2 separate regions of the Homo sapiens genome follow, and region 2 is linked to region 1. Evidence: promoter capture Hi-C in human tissues and cell types (Jung and others, 2019). All regions are on one chromosome and are shown on one strand. The core of a region is centred on a gene start or on the middle of the fragment in contact, and the rest is flanking DNA. Distances in the headings are between cores, read along the strand shown. Region 1 overlaps ZNF512 (zinc finger protein 512). Region 2 holds the start of SUPT7L (SPT7 like, STAGA complex subunit gamma).

What was found. The method cuts DNA at HindIII sites, captures the fragments that hold promoters and counts their contacts. A contact is called where the count stands out against the background at its distance.
Region 2: a contact is called between the fragment with the promoter of SUPT7L here and a fragment that was not itself captured in region 1, in 2 of the 25 tissues and cell types used here (hippocampus and spleen).

Annotation. Positions count from the first base shown.
Region 1 is chr2:27,617,551-27,623,612 of GRCh38, reverse strand. It overlaps ZNF512 (zinc finger protein 512), which reads right to left. Exons shown (of 14, transcript NM_032434.4): 13 at 6,042-6,062; 14 at 396-2,460. The coding sequence ends at 2,152. Among named protein-coding and RNA genes, the nearest start is that of CCDC121, 8.4 kb to the left of the region's middle. The HindIII fragment of the contact is 6,428 bases long and covers 1-5,654 here.
Region 2 is chr2:27,662,177-27,667,658 of GRCh38, reverse strand. It overlaps SUPT7L (SPT7 like, STAGA complex subunit gamma), which reads left to right and starts at 4,045. Exons shown (of 6, transcript NM_014860.3): 1 at 4,045-4,330; 2 at 5,378-5,480. The coding sequence starts at 5,467. It overlaps SLC4A1AP (solute carrier family 4 member 1 adaptor protein), which reads right to left and starts at 3,770. Exons shown (of 14, transcript NM_018158.3): 1 at 3,082-3,770; 2 at 2,364-2,559; 3 at 269-391. The coding sequence starts at 3,744. The HindIII fragment of the contact is 8,665 bases long and covers 2,120-5,482 here.

The DNA.
Region 1 (6,062 bases), core at 1,191-3,690:
GTGTCTCTTGGTACGCCTAGACAAAAGGAGTTACTCTGTGTATACCCAGGAGAGAAACTGCTAAGTCTTCGGGTACATATCTTCAACTCTGCTAGATACTGCCAAATCACTTTTGAAGTGATTGTACCAATTTGCATTCCAAACCATGTATGAAAGTTCATAATACTGTCAAACTTAGTTTGTTAGTCTAATGAATTTTTTTTAAAAAAACTTTAAAACTCAATACTGTGATTAGAATAGTCTATACTGAGTCCTGCTGATCCCTGGTCTTGGTCAGGAAAAACGAAAGGAATGCCTGCAAGAGGTCCCTGGATGAAACTGGGCAAGTTTCCTATACTAATTCACTTTAATCTCAAACTACTCATTTTAACCAGCATAATTCATGAACCAAAGAATTACTGAGACAACTGCATGTGGAATTTATTTCAAACTCACCCCCATCTCTAGCCATCTTCTTACCCCCATACAGTGTCAAGGAGTCATGCAGCAGGTCGGCGTCAAAGAACACTGGAAACATCTTTCTGAGAGTCATTTATTTCTTTTGTCATTGCCAAACATTCCCCAGGTCTTACTCACCAGAAATTAACATAGCTTCTTCATTTCTCCTCCCTGACAACCCTCATCTACTGAAAGGGCTTTAAGGGCACACTGCCAATGAAAATGCAGAGTGCATATACCATGTCCTTAACTTGTTTCAAAACTACCTATTCTGGCAGTATCCAATTCAGGTTTCAGTGCTCCCTTGTTTGAAAGTGGTCTTCACAAAAGCCCACATTTTAAAGCTATTTGGAGGAGCACAAAGAGTTAAAGTGGTAATAGCCTTTCAGAATTTGAAAAGGTAGTACTTGTCTATATCAGGTTCATTTTTTATGTGGCATATGCCACAAAATAGGCAAGAATATATAAGACCAATATTTACGCAAAATGGGGAAGAGAATCCAGAAACACGACAACAAAGCTGCTCTAACCAATGTTCCAGAGAAAGCCACCCTCAAAGAGAAATAACCCATTAAACATTACCAGATAGGCATGAGGTACAGAAAAAGAATTTTTCTTTCCAGCTCCAGATAAATATCTACATCTGGTGTCAAAGTCTCAGGATATAAAGAGGAGAGAACTCCATATATAAAAGAGGATAGGACAATATTCTCAGAAAATTCAAAAAGACAGAGGTTGGCTAAGGGGATGGGTGGAAACAGTGGGGCGTAGACTAACAAGTAAGGTAAAGTCCAGGGAGAAGGAATGCGCACCTTGGTTTTCCCTTAGTGGCACTACCAGGAGCACTAGGAGACTGTCAAAACATCAGGGGCAATGTGATATTTCTCAATTCTTAAAACCAAAGAAGCAAAAATAAGCTTCAGAGGGCAAGTGATCATAGCTATGGATGAGGCCTCGGGCTCCAGGAAAGTTGGGGCAGTATTTATTGCTGCTTCTACTTTCTCTTTCCTGTCATTTTAATGTTTGGGTCACTTTACTCCTAAGGTTGCTTTTCATGTCTGTGGGTCTAGTCACTGCTACTTGGTACAAAGCATTTCCCAGTATAAACAGCATAGGGTAGTTCTAGAGTTTTCATCCTAAATCCGTTTTCTTACTTTCAATCTTAAAACCATATTGAGAGGACAAACAGCCTCCATAAAGTTTTTTTCCCAAGGAGACAGAGTAATCTTATTATGTGAATGACAACAGTTCTAACTTCTAGACTTGTTATATCACAAATACAAAATGACAAATCAGTTATGGTTTTAAAAAATTAGTTTGGAATGGTTTCACAAGCTAGATGATGGAGCAGCTACTAAATCAATGGAGCTTCCAAGAACATTCTATACCCCAGGAAGGAAAGGACAACCAAAGAGGTTTCTTAGTTTTGTACAGGGCAAGAGGAGCCTATAGTTGGCCTTGAGAGGGAGCTCTTTGGGCAAGATAAAAAAACAAGAGGACTTGACGAGGAATAGCAGGAAAACCTACTAAAAGGGGAGGGGGGAATCAAAATGTAAGAAGGGAAGACAGTGAAATTTACACAGGAGGAAGGAGCTGAGAAAGTCACAGCCTTACACAAACAGCTGAAAGAATCTTCACTCAGTCCTCCCAGCACAGGTCCCCGTGACAACAGCATCACATCTGCTTTCCTAGGAGCACTTTTACACTGACTGCCTATTTCCTTCCTCGTTTATGATTAGTCTTTGGGGGCTTTACTTTCTGGAACTGTGCTGGCACTGGCTCCTGCTCTGGTTCCTTACAGGAGGCTGACACTACCAGTTCCTCATTATTCCTCCTCTGATCCTTCCCTACTCTAAGACTCAGCTCTGTCTCGGGAAGCTCAATGCCAGGCTGCTGCCGCCTTCTTAGAGACCTTCTGCTCCTGTGCTGCTGCCTCCGCTTTTCTTCTTCTTGCTGCCGCTGCTTTATCTTCATCAGCTTTTCAAAGCTTTTGGTTGTTGTTGGGTTTACAACGAACCAGTCCTAGAGAGGCAAAATAGAAATGTCATCCAGTCGAAAATATAGTGAAGAACATAAAGAAAGGTGGAGGAAGAATGGAAAAAAGGCATGATTAGGGCAGAACACAGTAAGAAGGAAACAGATATGGAACCATACCTCAGGATTCTATATTTTAAGATGGAGAAATCCAACACAGAGCAGCTATTACAAGCACATATTTTGTAAGGCGTAATTCTAGGGACTTTAATAAATGATCTACAAAGTCTGTTTACTTAGCATCATCCCACTCTTATATCTCCTGAGTATAAATCTCATCATGAGATGTAACACACTGAGCCATAGGAGATTTTTATTCCATGACGGCATCGTAACTAAGAGCATAAATTTTGCAGCCAGACCCCCTGGGTGCAAATCCCAGCTCTGTTTCTAGATACGTGACCATGGGCGAATTACTTAACATTTTCGAGGCTCACTTTAAAAAATTAAGGGGTAGGGGACATGAAATCCAATTATGAAGTATTTTTGCCAAAAAAGAAAGAACTTCAATCTTATCAAGTGATCTGTTCAATCTTCTAAATCTACCAATTCATAGGAAAAGCCAGAATAGGGAGTTGAGCCCAATCTCTCTGCCCCACTGCAAGACTCCACTGCAGTGGTCCCTGTACCTCAAAAACAAACAACAACAACAAAAAGCAAAAAAGGAAATGGCCAGAATACAGGAATACTATCATAGGGTGCAATCAGCAAAATTCCAGAATGTGGGTACATGTATGTGACAAGTGATCCGGTTTCTTCAATAAATGGCAAATTTGTAAAAAAGAAGAGGAAGCTTTTAGTCTTGCACCATGCAATGAGATAGCCACTAGCCACATATGGTAAGTGATGTGTTTAAATGTGAGTAGAACAAATTAAGATATGCTTTCATGTAAAATATACAACAAATCTCAAAGACTTGTTATGAAAAAAATGTAAAATATCTCAATAATTTATTGATTTAATGTTAAAAATAATTTTAGATATATTGGGCTTAATAATTATTAACATTAATTTCATCTTTTAAAATACTTTTTTAATGTGGCTACTAGAAAATTTTAAATTATATACATGGCTCACAGTACTTTTTTTGGATAGTGCTGCTCTAGATTAAAACAAACAAATGCAATATTTAGACCTTGTTTTAGATCCTAATTTGAAAAATCAACTCTGAAAAAACATTATAAGATAATCAGGGAAATTTAAATAATAACTAGACATATGATAATATTAAAATTCTTAACTTTTTTAGGTATAATGATGTTTGTGGTCATATGTTTTCAAAAGTCCTTATCTCTTACAGATATATATTGAAAGAAGCACTTACAGCTGAAATTTTATGTGGAATTTGCTTTAAAGTAAGCCTTTAAGGGAGGAGAAAAGTGAGGTTATAAATGACACAAGATTGGCCATACACTGATGATTGCTGAGGATGGCTGACAGCATACTGGGTTCATTATGCTATTTTCTCTACTTTCATGTGTTTGAAATTTTCTGTTAAAAAAAAAAAAGTAGTGTAAGAAAATGTGATGGAGGGAGGAAGAAACAGGGTAAAGATGTTTTACCACCCACAAAATTCATAGAGGCATAAATCAATAAACAAATGCCTGGGAGCATGCCCCAAACCAAGTGAAATTTGTTGGTTCCAATTCTTTTGATTTTAACTTTTTAGGAAGAAAATAGACAAACCATTTAACTATATAAAGGCCAGATTTTGTCAGGAGATAATTACCTTTTTTTTTTAACAGAGTCTTGCTCTGTTGCCCAGGCTGGAGTGCAGTGGCGCAATCTCGGCTCACTGCAACCTCCGTCTCCTGGGTTCAAGCAAATCTCCTGCCTCAGCCTCCCAAGTAGCTGGGATTACAGGTGCCCGCCACCACACCCAGCTAACTTTTTAGTAGAGATGGGGTTTCACCATGATGGCCAGGCTGGTCTTGAACTCCTGACCTCAGGTGATCTGCCCGCCTCGGCCTCCCAAAGTGCTGGGATTACAGGCGTGAGCCACCGTGCCCAGCCGATAATTACCTTTTAAATACTTCCTAAAGCAAAAAAAGATATGCTATTATTACTAAAAAGATATGACTGCCTTCAGAAGACATCTCAGGCTTTGGTTAGGGATTCTGAAAGCTTATGCCAGTAAAGCAACAGAAACCAAATTTTATGGAAGTAATTAAAGCTCACATTGTTAAGTACTATCAAATTTGAGGGCAGAAAATAAATAAAGGTGTTCCCTTTATTTTTCCACATCAGGCAGCAATAGTTTCTGCAGTGAGATATTCCAAGAGAATGCAAATTGTATTCCTAAGCTGTTGTAGTAGGACTATTTAATTATATCATAAACGATTTCTCTGTTCACCTGTATTACTAAAAAACCTTCCCCAAGAGAAAACCCTTGACCTTCTGAACTTTAAAGCATTTTTATACACAATTTTAAAATTTTATTTTGAAAAATTACAAACCTTCAGAAAAGTTGCAACAGTTCAATGAACAATCAAATTTACCACTGTTAATTTCTTTCCTTCCTCTCTTCCTTCTTCCCTCCTTCTTTCTTTTGCTGAACTATGTGCAAATTAGTTGCAGACATCATAATACTTCATCCCTAAACACTTTGGCATATATCTGCCTAAGAACAAGGGCATTCTCCTGCATGACTACAACTATCACCTTTGGGAATGTTAACACTGACACAATACTATTATTTAATACAGTCAGCATTCAAATTTCCCCAACTGTCTCAATAATGTCCTTTAGTTGTTTTATCCAGTATTTTAAACAGCGTTAAAAATGGGTTGCTGGAAGACATTAGAATGCTAGAAGGCATGAATGTATAGAGATCACTGTGAAATAAGAATTTCAAACATGTAAACTCAATCTGGTTCCCAAACATTTGACTTAATTGGATTTAAAGGAATTAGAAGAGTTCAGGCCGGGCATGGTGGCTCACACCTGTAATCCTAGCACTTTGGGAGGCCAAGGCGAGTGAATCACCTGAAGTCAGGAGTTCAAGACCAGCCTGGCCAACGTGGCAAAACCCCATCTCTACTGAAAATACAAAAATTAGCCAGGCATGGTGGCAGGTGCCTGTAATCTCAGCTACTCAGGGAGTATTGCTTGAACCCGAGAGGTGGAGGTTGCAGTGAGCCCTCCAGATTGGGCAACAGAGCGAGACTCCGTCTAAAAAAAAAAAAAAAAAGAGTTCAAGGATGCTTACAGTCACAGTGATTTTTTTTTTTTTTTTGAGTCAGGATCTCTGTTGCCTAGGCTGGAGTGCAGTAGCGCAACCAGCTCACTGCAGCCTCAAACTCCTGGGTTCAAGTGATCCTCCTGCCTTGGCCTCCCAAAGTGCTGGGATTAGAGGCATAAGCCACCCCGCCCACCCCTCACAGTGACTTCAAATACTTTCACAGAAAAATACAATTATATATCTAAGTTTAGAGAATATTTTAACTCTAATGGCTCTGGTAACCACTTTAGAGATACTTTCCTTGACAGCCTTAGTCCATAACAATAGGGACAAAGTCTACCTCTCTTGTGGCTTACATATCAGGCCCACAGGATTACAAAAACCTCACCTCAGCATGGACGGAGTTGAT
Region 2 (5,482 bases), core at 2,796-5,295, 42 kb before region 1:
AATGAGATGAGTCAGGAAAAAGTACTTCCTTTTTTTAAGATAAGAAGAAAGACTAACAAGATTTTTATGATTTTTTTCCCCTCTGCCATACTAATGAGGAATAATTTTCAAAATAAACCTAAAGCAACTGACCACAAGAGTAAAAAGTGAACAAGAAGGACAGCAATAAAATTATAGCATATCTTAGTATAAAGCTCAACATGAAGCTCTAGAAAACCACACTGCTCTGGATATGTTTTAGTGGTAGGGTCAGAATCTGTTTACATACCTTCTCGGTCAAAAAAGCCTTGGAGAGCCTTTTTGGGATCCTTTATATAAAAGGCCTCCCTTTCCTGCTGAAACTCTAAGACAATAGGGTTCTCTTCAGCATCATCCTCTACTGCATCTTCTCCTACAGGATATGGAAAAGAAAGAAAAGATAATCAGACATGAGAAGAGACTATTTGAATGATACCCACTATTCTCTCAGGCTGCATAAAGATATAGTTTAGGCTGGGCGCAGTGGCTCATGCCTGTAATCCCAGCACTTTGGGAGGCCAAGGCAGGTGGATCACAAGGTCAGGAGTTCAAGACCAGCTTGGCCAACATGGTGAAACCCCATCTCTACTAAAAATACAAAAAAAATTAGCTGGGCACAGTGGCGGGTGTCTGTAATCCCAGCTACTTGGGAGGCTGAGGCAGGAGAATTGCTTGAACCTGGGAGGAAGAAGTTGTAGTGAGCCAAGATCGCGCTACCTGCACTCCAACCCAAGCAACACAGTGAGACCGTCTCCCAAAAAAAAAAAAATATATATATATATATAGTTTATCTGTGATGAAAAATAATAAATACTTGCAGGGACAGGGGGTGGAACAACCACCACAAAACCACTAGTATGAGCATATTCAGGTTTTCTAAATTGTGTGACAAGTCAAAACTTGTTTTCATGGCACCTTAATTTTTTTTTCTCCATCATTATATTTTAAAAGTAAAATTACCTACCACATTGTGGAAAAAAAATTTGAGCTCCTCAGCCTGGCATTCTTGTTCTCTCACACTCATATCTAACTTTCGTTCCCAATATAATTTCCTAATACTTCTTATATCTGCCAAATAGACTGGTCTACTCACAACTTCCTTAAAATCATCAATTCCTACCCTGAATACCAATCCCAATACTCAGCTTCATAAGGCTTTTCCTTTCCTTCAAGTTCCAGCTCAAAATCCTTATGCTCATAAAGCTTCCCTGTGGAGTGCGATCGCTCACGCCTGTAATCTCTACACTTTGGGAGGCCGGGGGGCGGGGTGGGGGGGGGGGGTGGGGGGTGGATCACAAGGTCAGGAGTTCAAGACCAGCCTGGCCAATATGGTGAAACCCCATCTCTACTAAAATAAAAAAAATTAAGTTTCCCAAAGATCTAAGTCAGTGCTGTCCAACAGAAATATAATGACAGCTGTATGCGTCATCTTAAATTTTCTATTAGCCACATTAAAAAATTAAAAGGAAACAGGTAAAATTATTGTCATTTCAACATGTCATCAATATAAAAATATCATGAAAGAGATATTTTACATTCTTTTTTTCAGACTAAGTCTTTGAAATTCAGTGTGTATTTTGCATTTACAGCACACATCAATTGCAACTAGCCACACTGCAAGTGCTCAGTAACCACATGTGGCTAGTGGCTACCATATCAGACAACACAGGTCTAAGTCCCCAGTGACTGTTCTCTCTTCTCCAAACTTTCACTCTAGCATACTTATGGTTTCTAGCTTTTGTTTGGCACTTAGCACAAGTAATTTCATAATTTTTCCTATCTTCCCAACTATATATTAATGCCATCTTCTACCTTTTTATACTCCCATCTCCTGAATATCCATTTTCTAAAATATCTGGTGTTAAAGAAAGTTTATTATTTTGGCTAAGGGACCAGCTTTATCTGATTAGATATTCCACATTTCAGGATATCTTCACAAAGTACAAAAAATTCAAGAGAATATCCTATATTGAATAACATCCCATTTATTTGATTGAATAGAGTTCCATCCCCTCCAATGATAATCACATAGCACAAGGTCAGTACTTAATAAATATAAAATTTTAGAATTGTAAAAATAATAATTTTATGCTTAGGACAAGTTTTGAACAAGAGAGTGCATTAAAAATAAATTTTTAAAAAATCCAAAGTGCCTATAAGTCAATTTCTTTACAACAGTAAAGTCAGTGAATCTCTCTGGGTTTTGGTTACCTCATGTGCAAATTGTGTTTGCCCTATCTATCTCAAGGAGCCATGAAAAGCTGTATGATTTAAAAAAACATTTAAGGGTACCACTTGTAATGAACTTAAAATATTAACCTCCGGCAGCAATTTTAATTTCTTACCCATTCCCCAGGTGCAACCCATCTCATCATCTTGGCTACCAGCATTTATCTTCCTTTCAGAGGTATCCATTTCCTCTTCTTCATCTGAGTCTTCTCCTAGCATCTTCTTCTCCAACAATATTTGCTGCTGCTTGCGCAATTCCTTCAACTGTGTTACTGTTAACTCGGATTCTGCCTCTCGGTCTTCCTCTGGTCCCTGATGAACCAAGGAAAAAAAGGTTATTTATTTATTTAGAGACAGGGTCTTGCTCTGTCGCCTAGGCTGGACTGGAGTGCAGTGGCTGTAATACACCTCACTGCAGCCTTGACCTCCTGGGCTCAGGTGATCCTCCCACCTCAGCCTCCTGAGCAGCTGGGACCATGATGCCTGGCTAATTTTTTTTTTTTTTTTTAAGAGACAGGGTCTTGCCATGTTGCCCAGCCTCCTCTCAAACTCCTGGGCTAAAGCGATCCTCCCGCCTGGGCCTCCCAAAGTGTTGGGATTACAGGCGCGAGCCACCGCGCCTGGCCAAACAAGTTATTTTAGAGTTCGGGATTGTGAACATGACTTTCAGAAATATAGCAATGTGTACAGCCGTCTGAAGATGATAGGCCAGACTTGATTCCTTCACTTTCGTAATCGCTGAGTGGGAGATTCTTCTTCCTCATCCAAAGCTTAAGAAGCACAAGAACGCAGTCCAATGAACCCGAAATTTCAATTCTAGGTTTTTCTACCTACCTGCAGGATAAAGAGCCGGGTGCTGCCTCCAAAGCGAACAACATGCCCAACGTGGACTCGACAGTAGGTGCGAGGTGGGATGCGAGTTTTGTTGAGAAAAGTGCCATGGGTGCTTCCCAGATCGTAGAGGTAGAAGCCCGGCCCGTTGCTGTCGCATTCTCCGTCAGGGCCGGACGCCCTGTGCTGCAGCACTGCGTGGTACCGAGACACCGAAGGGTGCTCCAGGCACACGTCGCAGCCAGACAGCCTCCCGAAAAGGCAGTAACTCGTCCCTTTCAAGCTACGGGTGCCAAGGATAGTGCCGCCCTTCAGGGTCTCTAAGCTGTAGGGGGCTGTGGCAGGGCCACCCCATGGAGGCTCTTGGTAGGGGGGAGCCCGGGCTGGACCGCCAGGGGAAGAAACCGCTGTCGGGGGGCGCGACTGCTCCTCCTGTAGACTCCTAAAATCACCGCAGTCCGGCTGAGGAGGAGGGATGTCGGGCTCCCCAGAATTGGAGTCCTGCAACGCAGTGGGCCCTTCCTTCTGTACCTCCTCAGGGTTTGAAGAACTGCTGGCCGGGGCCTTACTCCGCGCCGCTGGGGACACCGGCAGAGCTGGCTTCTTGAAGTCCCCACTGAGGTCTTGCGACGCCAGGGTCTCTGACTGAGAGAGAATGTCAGCCATCCTCAACCGGTGCAACTTCGAAATCCGCTCCTTCGAAACCCACCCTTCGGTCTTTACGTTCCTGTCCACGTCCCACTCTCCCAAGCTCCCAGTGGCGTCTGTAGGCGGCGATGGTGAAGTTGCTCCTTCACGACCTGGAGCGTTGCGAAGTGGTGCTAACATGAGAAGGTCATAATATGAGAAAAACAAAACGGTTATCGGGATGCTGTGCAGAACGGGGACATATTTAGAGGTTACAACGGGATCGTAATGACTTCCTGTTGCATAGCTTGATTGAGAAGAAGCGCTTCCGGCGGTCTTAGATCACTAATCAACAAACCAGCTTTCGGGGTCTGACGCGATCCTTGCCTCAGGCCTCTCGAGGTCCAGACAGCCGCCCAGCCCGCTCTGCGACGCAGCAGTGAATAGTGTGGTACCTCCTTGTCTCGGTTCAGGTCCAGACCTCCCCGTCTTCCGGCTGCCCTGAACGTCAGGCGACCTCAGGACCCTGTGATTGGCGCCTGCGCCGGCGGACCGTGACCGAGGAAACCCCTGGAGGGACTTGGGCATTCCTTGGGCTCCGTGCCTGTTCTTCGTGCTCCTTTCGGTAAAGTAAGGGAAGAGGGCGACTTTTTTGTTATTTCGTTCATTCATTTATTTTTTTTCTGAAATTATTAAGGCAGAATAGTTAAGTGGTTAAGAGAGCAGACTCTGGAGACTGTCGATTTTTGACCTCGCCATTTGTGACATTGGGCAAGACACTAGGCCTCAGCCCTCACTCTGAAAAATGGGGATAAGATTATTAGCCTCATAGGGTTGTTGGAAGAATTGAATCAAACAATAAAGGCCAGCCAGACCGGTGGCTCATGCCTGTAATCCCAACATTTTGGGAGGCTGAGGCGGGAGGATTGCTTGAGCCCAGGAGTTCCAGAGGAGGCTGGGCAACATGGCGAGACCCTGTCTCGCCAAAAAAAAAAAAAAAAAAGAAAAAATCCAGGTTTGATGGTGCGCGCCTGTAGTCCCAGCTACTCCAGAGGCTGAGGTGGGAGGATTGCTTGGTCCCAGGAGGTTGAGGCTGCAGTGAACCATGACTGCACCACTGCACTCCAGCCTGGGCTACAGAGTGAAACCCTGTCTCAAAAAAGAAACAAACAAAAAAGGTGAAGTCTGGCATATAGTAAACATTCAACAAATGCCAGATATTTCTGTGTGCCTGGCCCTGTAACAAGACCACAGCCATAAGAAATAGACGGGCAGAAAAAATCTATTGCGATAAGTACTAATTAAAATCCAAGGATAACTGCTGTGACATAGACTTGCAAAGCACTGTGAGAATAGAGAAAGGGAGATGCACTGGTGAAGTGACGGACGGTGGGGACTTATGCTGTACTTAAAAATGAATATGAGTCTGCCAGGGATGTGCAAGGTTGGCAGAGCATTTCTGGCAGAGTTCACAGCTGAAAGTGTCAATTGTGGAAATGTACAGCATTCTCAAGAAACTGAGTAGTATAATGTTGTTAGAACAAAGGTAGTCATTTCACCCAGGAAGCTCCTCCTTTGTGCTTCCAGTACCCCAGGTCCATATACCTCTAGAACAGTACTTACCATGTTTCATATTGAAATATTCTGCTTCTGTTTCTCTTCCTCACTTCAGGGCAAGGATCTCACATTATCAGTCTTTGACCGACACAGAATGCCTGGCATTTGATAAATGTTTGTTGAACTTGAAGAGACATATGGACAATGAATCTGCAAAGGT